2 separate regions of the Homo sapiens genome follow, and region 1 is linked to region 2. Evidence: promoter capture Hi-C in 16 types of primary human blood cells and fetal thymus (Javierre and others, 2016). All regions are on one chromosome and are shown on one strand. Each heading gives the region's core, a stretch centred on a gene start or on the middle of the fragment in contact. The rest is flanking DNA. Distances are from core to core; before and after follow the strand shown.

Region 1 (4,515 bases), core at 1,822-4,321, 1.1 Mb before region 2:
GGATGCAGCAATGTGTGCTCAACCACACAAGGCTGAGGAGTGCAATGGAACCAAAGACAGCTGTTTCTAGAGAGAGTTCTGTAAAGCCCAGTGCCCATCCAACAGTGAAGAAAATTTTTGTTGGTGATGTTAAAGAAGATACAGAAGAACATAATTTGAGAGACTACTTTGAAAAGTATCGCAAGATTGAAACCACAGAAGTTACAGGAGGACTGGCAGAGTGGAAAAAAGAGAGGATTTGCTTTTGTAACTTTTGATGATCATGATAAAATTGTGGTTCAGAAATAACACTCTATTAACAGGCGTTAGTGAAGTGAAAAGGGCCCTTTTTAAACAACAGATGCAGTTGTGGAGTGGATCTAGCAACTTTATGGGTTGTGGAGGAAACTTTGGAGATGGTAGTTTTGGCCATGGGTAGAAACTCTGGTGGAAGAGGAGGATATGGTGCTGGGGTGGTGGCAGCAGAAGTAGTTATGGAGGAGGGGTTGCTGGATATAATGGATTTGAAGGTGATGGTGGCAACTACCGCAGTTGTCCTGGTTTTGATAGTAGAGGCGGGTATGGTGGTGGTAGATATGGTGGCAGCAGTGGAGGATATGATGGTTACAATGAAGAAGGTAATTTGGGGAGTGGTAATTACGGTGGTGGTGGGAACTATAATGATTTTGGATATTACAGTGGACAATGACAACCAAATTATGGACCCATGCATGAAAGGGGGCAGTTTTGGTGGATAAAGCTTGGGCAGTCTCTATGGTGGTAAATATGGTAGCACAAGGTTCTAAAAACAGCAGAAAAGGGCTACAGTTTTTGGCAGGAGTGCAAGCAAGGAGAAGTCAGAAAAGCTGCAAGTTACTTTGAGGCAATCATCCAAATGCATTAGAGGAACTGTAAAAATCTGCCACAGAGGAATGATGATCCACAGTCAGAAAAGTTACTGCAGCTTAAACAGGAAAGCCTTCTTGTTCAGGACTGTCATAGCTACAGGTTGCAAAAAGTGCACTATTGATTAATGCAGTGTAGTGTCAATTAGATGTACATTCCTGAGGTCTTTTATCTGTTGTACCTTTGCCTTTTTCTTTTCATTACATCAGGCATGTTACCCTGTAAATTATGGTAGTGTAGTGGTACCAGGAATAAAAAACTAAGGAATTTTTAACTTTGCAATAAAAATTAAAATTAAAAAGTATAATGACTTAACTATAAAAATTCAAAGAAAAACTTTTAAAAAACCACATCTTACTCATTAGTTATCTTGTGCCACACTGTAAGCACAGGTGCAAGTCATTTTCCAGTTTTAGCAACTACAGTATACTTCAACCTTCTCAGCTAAAGAAATCTTTTTAATCCACTTGAAGCACACAGCATGGTGTCTGACATGTAAGGGCTTAGTTACCAGTAACACCCTTTAAAATGCACAACAGGCCTGGTGCGGTGGCTCACGCCTGTAATCCCAGCACTTTGGGAGGCGGAGGCGGGAGGATCACAGGGTCAGGAGATCAAGACCATCCTGACTAACACGGTGAAATTCTGTCTCTACTAAAAATACAAAAAATTAGCCGGGCGTGGCGGCGGCAACTGTGGTCCCAGCTGCTCAGGAGGCTGAGGCAGGAGAATGGCATGAACCCGGGAGGTGGAGCTCGCAGTGAGCTGAGATTGCGCCACTGCACTCCAGCCTGGGCGACAGAGCAAGACTCCATCTCAAATAAAAAAAAAAAAGCACAACAAACACCATGTGCATCAACCACCAATATAAATAAAGTCATGAAGGGGGCACCCATAAACTTGAAGCATTTTTACTTAACTGCTAGGTAAAATCTCAGAATTTTACTGATTAAAATATGTATTTTATGTGTTCTAAAGAAGAAAACCAACTCTCAACATTTAGATTGGCAGAATGTCAGAAATGTCGTGTTTAAACAAGTATCCCCTTCCAGTTCCCTACTGTGGGTAGCATTTATCCACTCAGTGCCCAATAAGTGCTATCTTCTTGGGAATGCAATGGTTTACAGATGAGGTTCCTTGCCTTCACTTAGCCTACAACCTTACTTTCAACTAAGGGTGTTAAATGCTAGGATACAAGTAGAGGGTGCTGTAAAAGGGAGGCACTAACCGAAATATGAGAGGGGTGTTTCTGGCAGAGACATGAAGCTGACTATAGTAAGACTACTTAGACAAGGGGTAGGCAAACGTTCTATAAAGGGCCAGAGAGTAAATATTTTAAGCTTTGCAAGCTATATGGTATCTGTTGTAACTAAACTCTTGGCAAAAGCAGGCACAGACAATATGTAAATGAATAGGCATGGATGTAATACCAATGTTATGGACCCTGAAATCTGAATTTCATATAATGTCCACATATCATGAAATATTACCCTTTCTTTGATTTTCTTTCTCAATCATTTAAAAATGTTAAAACCATTCTTAGTACACGGGCTATAGAAGAACCAGTGCCAGCTCCTGGTCCAGACTGGCAAAGAGCATGGTGCTTTTATACCTGACATAGGCTCGCTGGGTCTAGAGTGTGATAAGCAAGAGGAAGGACATGGGTGGAGAGATGGAATATTTACATTAACACAAAGTTTTTTGTAGTCTGCCACTGCACCATCCAAAAATGATGAGATGCTTCACCACATTCACCAAGCTCATGCTACAGCAGTAGGTTGAAGCCCATGTTGGAAAGGCCCCACCTTTCTTTTTTTAGAAAAAAAGCCAAATTTCACTTTTTAAAAAGTTCAAAGATGAGGGAAAACTACTTTTAATCTTTATAGTTATCTTTAACTTTAGGTCAAATTTATAGAAATAGATTTATAGCAACTCTGTGGAGAACAGAGTAAAGCAAAATTACTGGCCCTACTTCTCTTTAAAAAACATCCCCACCTACTTATACTGTCTGTTAAGTGATATGTTAGTTCATTACTTTTGAATACCTCTTCTTACAATCCACAAGTGCCTCATAAAGTAGTCTTAAAAGGGTGTGCTTTTTTTCAGTGGTGAGATTCCAGTCAGAAATCCATTTTCTAACCTACAAGAGATTGACAAAAGGAGAAAACTGAGTAACACATATAAAGTATAACATATAAAAGTACATTTCTGGCTGGGCGTGGTGGCTCACGCCTATAATCCCCAGCACTTTGGGAGGCCAAGGCAGGAGGATCAACTGAAGTCGGGAGTTCGAGACCAGCCTGACCAACATAGAGAAACCCCGTCTCTACTAAAAATACAACATTAGCCGGGCGTGGTGGCGCATGCCTGTAATCCCAGCTGCTCAGGAGGCAGAGGAAGGAGAACTGCTTGAACCCTGGAGGCGGAGGTTGCGGTGAGCTGAGATTGCGCCATTGCACTCCAGCCTGGGCAACAACAGTGAAACTCCGTCTCAAAAAAAAAAAAAGTACATTTCTTATAAGCAGAACAACTATTCCACACAGTAACTCACTTGATCCAGCTCAGTTGGGATGTACTGGATGGCCCCACAAGATGCTGCCACTTTAATAAGGCTGCAATACACTGTGTATCTTACAGGAGTATTCTTATCCATCCCGTGGAAAAGGTTGCTTAACCTGGTTGGTTAACAAACAAATAAACAATGTTTGAAATCAGCAACCAGTTTTAAGTTGAGGTTAGCTCTCACCACAAACCTGTGGCAGGTACCGTTAACAACTTCATATTACAAAGGAGGAAACTAGGGCACAGAAAGGTCAAGCCACTTGCCCAAGGTCACAGCTAATATGAGCCACAGCTGAGAGTCAAGTTCCAGAATTCCTGCTCTGCACCATTAAAAGTTAGTAACATGAAAAAAGCACCTAGAAAAACTGAGTTTCTTTCAGATCTTAACTTACAACTGCAGTCTCAGAGACGGGCGTTCACCTTCGCGAAATTTGACCAGCTTTTCACATAGGCTTTCAATCAAAGCTTCTTGCTTGTCTGGTTCCAGGATCAAGAGTAGGGATACCACACTGTTCATCACACTTTCAACATCTACACAAGTATGGATAACACAATCAACAGTGATACTACAATACTCAATGCGTCTAGTTAAATATGCATTTCCAGTGTTTTAATACAATGAAGACCATCAAATGTAAGACACTTTCGCATTCAGAAAGCAACTTGTATATTTTATTAAAGAGGAAGGAAATTGATACCTAAGATGTGGTTTCTTTTTTTTTTTTTTTTTTTTTTTCAGATGAAGTCTTGCTCTCTTGCCCAGGCTGGGGTGCAGTGGTGCGATCTCGGCTCACTGCAACCTCCGCCTCCCAGGTTCAAGCGATTCTCCCGTCTCAGCCTCCCAAGTAGCTGGGACTACAGGCACCCGCCACCACGCCCGGCTAATTTTTGTATTTTTAGTAGAGACGGGGTTTCACCATATTGGCCAGGCTGGTCTTGAACTCTTGACCATGTGATCCACCTGCCTCGGCCTCCCAAAGTGCTGGGATTACAGGCGTGAGCCACTATGCCTGGCCTATGATGTGGTTTCTAACTAGTAAAACAGAGACTGATTTACATGTATATAAA
Region 2 (4,676 bases), core at 236-2,735:
GAATCAAGAAGCCATACTCTTTCTCATAGGTTGCTGGTCTTCTTACTTTCTCTGCACTAAACCTATGAAAAGCCTACTTTGAGGGGAAAATAACCGAAAGAAATGTCAAACGAAGTACAAGAACAAGCAATGAGTTATATTTTATGAAAGTGTACAAGATTTAACAGACACATATCACACACTATGAAAAAAGTTATGTAAACACAGACGGGGTTTTAATGAAACAGCATTCAGAAATTAATCTAGAAGCTTTATTAACACAGCAAATCTGTCCTACCAACTTAATCTGGTCATTCCTTTGAATATAACAGTTATGAAACAAGCATATTCTTCAGCAGGCTTCTCATAAAAAATTCCAGAGATTTTAAAGGAAAGCCTAAGAACTAGACTTTTCTCGTTAAAATGTGAGTTAAATTTAAAGATGTCGTATGGAATGTAGCAGCAATCAATACTGGGAAGCAAAATGTATATAGAAAAAATAAAAAATATATACACAGATTTAACGCAGACACTATCTAAATATCAACGACAGGCTCAAAATACTTTATAAGGATTATGTGTCAACATAAGCCTTTAACATTCGCTCTCTTAAAGCCAAAATGTTTTAAGATTTAGAACCAGAGAACAGGCAGTCTGACGGTCAAAGAGGGGAAATCATTTTTTTCCAGCATCTTCTAATGAAGTCTGTCTCTCACAATTATAAAAACTTTTGCAGGCTGGTCTAAACCGTGAGCTGCCTGGAGAAAGCAGAAGGGAGGTATCCTGAATGAAAGCCAAACCATCTCCATAAATTAATGTCTTCCCTTGACTAGAAAGCATTTCAGGGTAAAAAGCATGTACGAATTCCTCCGTAATATGAAAAGGGGTTGGAGGGCAGGGAATGAAATAGAGAGCGAGGGCACTAAAACATGTTTAGTTAACAGCGCTCAGAAGTCTCCACACAACCCGTATTCCCCTCCATCTCAATCAGACCAGGCTATTCTCTCCTCCTCCGAAGGTTTAGGGGTCAGAAAGAGATGTGGGGTCAAAGTGGCTTCCCCGACAGGTCCCCTCCCTAAGTTTCCCCTCGGCTGAGCCCAGATCTCCGCTCTGAACCGACCTAAGAGCTGGTCTAGGGCTGGGAGCCCGGTTGATACCAGCAGCTGTCCATTCCGCACCGACGGTCGCGTGCCCGCAATGGACACCAGTCGAGGGCCGCTGTCGTTGGTCACGCTGGCTCTAGGACCCCTCCTCTGGAAACTGGTGACGTTGCTCTTGCTGGCTGTCGCCACTGCAGACCCAGTACTCGCGGCAACACTACCGCAGGTTGCCACTGCCGCCATCTTAGAGCCTCCAGTGTTAACCCAATAGGAACTCTGGGAACGCAAACACCCGTCCTATCAGAACCAGTGCCAAACTCCCGCCTCCTCGCCCCAACCGCGGCTCTCGTAACCAATAGGACTGAGACGTCAGTCCCGAGCCAACCAATCGGAAGGCGTATTGCTGAAAAGTGCGCCCTACGAAAGGACGGTCGACTTCGGCGGGGCCCAGGTGAGAAAGGCCCACCTGTGTCCTGGTTGAGGGTCTCCAGGGTTCTTTGGGGCCCGAGGTAGGTAATATCACGTAACGTTCTTCTCCTTTTGAGTGCCTTCATTCACATTGAGTTAAAGAAAAGGTTGGTGAAACAATAAACCCTTAGGGCTTATCAAGCAATTGCTAGCACCTTTCTCCGCTGTGTGTGAGGATAGACTTTTTTCCTGCTCATTTATCTTCTGATTTCTGATAGAAAATTCACTCCGCCTTCCCCACGATGTCTTTTTCTTAATTTTGTGTTATATGGAAAGGATGGGATCTCTTACCTTAATGAGTTGGTTGCTGAGCGTCTGGGCTTAGTTCGTTAGTGCCTAGTGGTAGGTGGTTTGGAATTAAACCTTAGAGCGAAAACTCTTGAACTTTGAGGCTATCTGGTTTTCCTGTGTCTGACAAACTATAGCTCTCTGACAAGTTCCGATAAGAAGCTTTTGTTAATTTTAATTAGTGTTTCTGGAAGTCTTGGATGTCTTTCCTAAGCGGTGTAAATGACAAGTGTTACTCTGACAACCTTGTTCACACATTTAATTGTCGTTTGCTGTTAAAGCAGCTGCAAATAACAGAAAATACTTAGGGTTTCTTTCCCCCAAAAAACTGCTAGGAAGAATTAGAAGTATACCTACTTTATTTTATGAACCCTGAATCGAGAGTTTATTACTAAAATACCAATTTTATGTGTGGAAAAAACATGTATTTTGAGTTGTATTTTTGTATTTAATTTTTTTTTCAAAACTGAGCAGGGACAGTGGGTAACTGATGTTTAAAGGCAATCATGATTGACAAATGTCTAAATTGAAAAGGACTCCCAAATCATTACCGCACTACTGAGTTATTGACTTTGACAGTGATCTGTGATACCTTTTAATTAGAGCCAAACCTCATTGAAATTCTTGCCATCGAATTGTTTTAAATCTCACTGACCTGTTGAAATTTTTGGGCTGATTCTGTTTGATAAATTGAAATTAGTATTGCTAAATAGTGACTGGAGTTTTTCATTTGGGGAGGATTTTTGTTTGTTTGCTTGTTTTTTAGAATCATGTTTAGGAAAAAACCCTGTTTCACAATATATCAACTGGAAAGCTTTGATCAAGGTTGCTTTCATATTGAATCTTTAAGTTACTCAATAAATAGCTGTTGAGTGATTACTGTCTGTTTGGACTTAATCTTGTCATTTTAGACCTATGGTAATAAAAATGGTCTCACCTGGAGGAGATAAAATTAACACATAGAAAACAACATAGTACTTAAAATGAACACATTAAATAGCATGTGCTAATTTTATCCTGTAGTAAATAAGCACTAGGAAGACCAAAAGAAAAAGTGACAAAGCAGTCCAATATCAGATAGAAACGTCTTGAATTTTTTTTTTCTTCAACTTTTGTTTTAGGTTCTGGGCTTCATGTGCAGGTTTGTTACATAGGTAAACGTGTGCTGTGGTGGTTTGCTGCACAGATCAACCCACCACCTCGGTATTAAGCCCAGCATCCATTAGCTATTCTTCCTGATGCTCTCTGTCCCCCCACCCCTACAAATATTTTTGATGCTGTGAACTTTTTGAAATGCTACATATAATTATTATTTTTTGACAGATGGCATTGTTTTGTGTACCTCATGATGCTATGAAGTGTATGTACATTCCGGAATCGTTAAATCTAGCTAATTAGCAATGCATTACCTCACATAGTTATCATTTTTGTGGTAAGAGTACATAACATCTACACTGTTTACATTTTTTTAAAGAATACAATATATGATTATTAACTATAGTCAGCTTGCTATAAATTCATGTTATATAATAGATTTCTTGAAATTTATTCCTCCTATCTAACTGATATTATGTATCTTTGACCAAATTCTCCCCATCCCCCCTGCCAACCATCCTGGCCTCTGGTAAACACCATTGTACTCTCTGTGCGATGAACTATTAGATTCCACCTATGAGTAAGATCATGTGATATTTGTCTTTCTGTGTCTGACTTATTTCACTTAACATAATGGTATAATTCGTTTTTATAGGCTTCTGTATTACATATTCCCTTGTTTCCTACTGTATTTACTTAACCCTTTAGATTTCCCAAGATGATGATAGTGGTGCTTTGTTTGCCTCATTACTAGAACTGAAGAATTATTTTCCAACTTTGACTTGGACTATAATTCTGGAAAGATGATCTATATACACACCAGAGTATTCATGAAATTAGGATATATATCTGGTATAACACTATCGTAGGATAAATATGCTTTTGTTTTTTTTTTCTGAGACGGAGTCTAGGTGTGTTCCCCGGGCTGGAGTGCAGTGGCGCGATCTCGGCTCACTGCAAGCTGTGCCTTCCTGGGTTCACACCATTCTCCTGCCTCAGCCTCCCGAGTAGCTGGGACTACAGGCGCCCGTCACCACGCCCTGCTGATTTTTTGTATTTTTAGTAGAGATGGGGTTTCACCGTGTTAGCCAGGATGGTCTCAGTCTCCTGACCTCGTGATCCGCCCACCTCGGCCTCCCAAAGTGCTGGAATTACAGGTGTGAGCCAGCGCGTCAGCCAAATATGGGTTTTTTGTTTGTTTGTTTTTTGTTTTCTTTTTAGACGGAGTCTCGCTCTGTTGCCAGGCTGGAGTGCAGTGGCATGATCTCGGCTTACTGCAACCTCCGCCTCCTGGGTTCAAATGATCCTCCTGCCTCAGCCTCCTGAGTAGTTGGGACTACAGGCATGCACCACCATGCCCAGCTAATTTATGTATTTTGAGTAGAGACAGGCTTTCACCATGTTGGCCAGGATGGTCTCAATCTCTTGACCTTGTGATCCACCCGCCTCGGCTTCCCAAAGTGTTGAGATTACAGGTGTGAGCCACCGCGCCCAGCCGCCTTTTTTTTTTTTTTTTTTAACAAAGATAAAATCTTTGCTCCCAAATAATTTCAAATTCTTGAACTTACCAGCAAGTAGCAGAGTTGAATATAAAACACGAGAATAAATAAAGTATTCATGGAAAGGAAGAGTTAAAAGTTATATGTTGGCTGGGCACAGTGACTCATGCGTGTAATTCCAGCACTATGGGAGGACGAGGCGTGCAGATCACAAGGTCAGAAGATCGAGACCTTCCTGGCTAACATG

Evidence for each region. The method cuts DNA at HindIII sites, captures the fragments that hold promoters and counts their contacts. A CHiCAGO score of 5 or more calls a contact.
Region 1: a fragment that was not itself captured here is called in contact with the fragment with the promoter of IMMP1L in region 2 in 7 of 17 cell types (fetal thymus, naive CD4 T cells, total B cells and 4 more); the score reaches 7.8 in fetal thymus.

Annotation. Positions count from the first base shown.
Region 1 is chr11:32,588,057-32,592,571 of GRCh38, reverse strand. EIF3M (eukaryotic translation initiation factor 3 subunit M) reads right to left here. Exons shown (of 11, transcript NM_006360.6): 3 at 3,840-3,978; 4 at 3,437-3,560; 5 at 2,931-3,025. It also overlaps the pseudogene HNRNPA3P9. Among named protein-coding and RNA genes, the nearest start is that of EIF3M, 6.5 kb to the right of the region's middle. The HindIII fragment of the contact is 1,687 bases long and covers 2,228-3,914 here.
Region 2 is chr11:31,506,431-31,511,106 of GRCh38, reverse strand. IMMP1L (inner mitochondrial membrane peptidase subunit 1) reads left to right here and starts at 1,485. Exons shown (of 6, transcript NM_001304274.2): 1 at 1,485-1,588. ELP4 (elongator acetyltransferase complex subunit 4) reads right to left here and starts at 1,340. Exons shown (of 10, transcript NM_019040.5): 1 at 1,100-1,340. The coding sequence starts at 1,322. RefSeq lists enhancers at 1,036-1,325, 458-1,347. The HindIII fragment of the contact is 1,748 bases long and covers 252-1,999 here.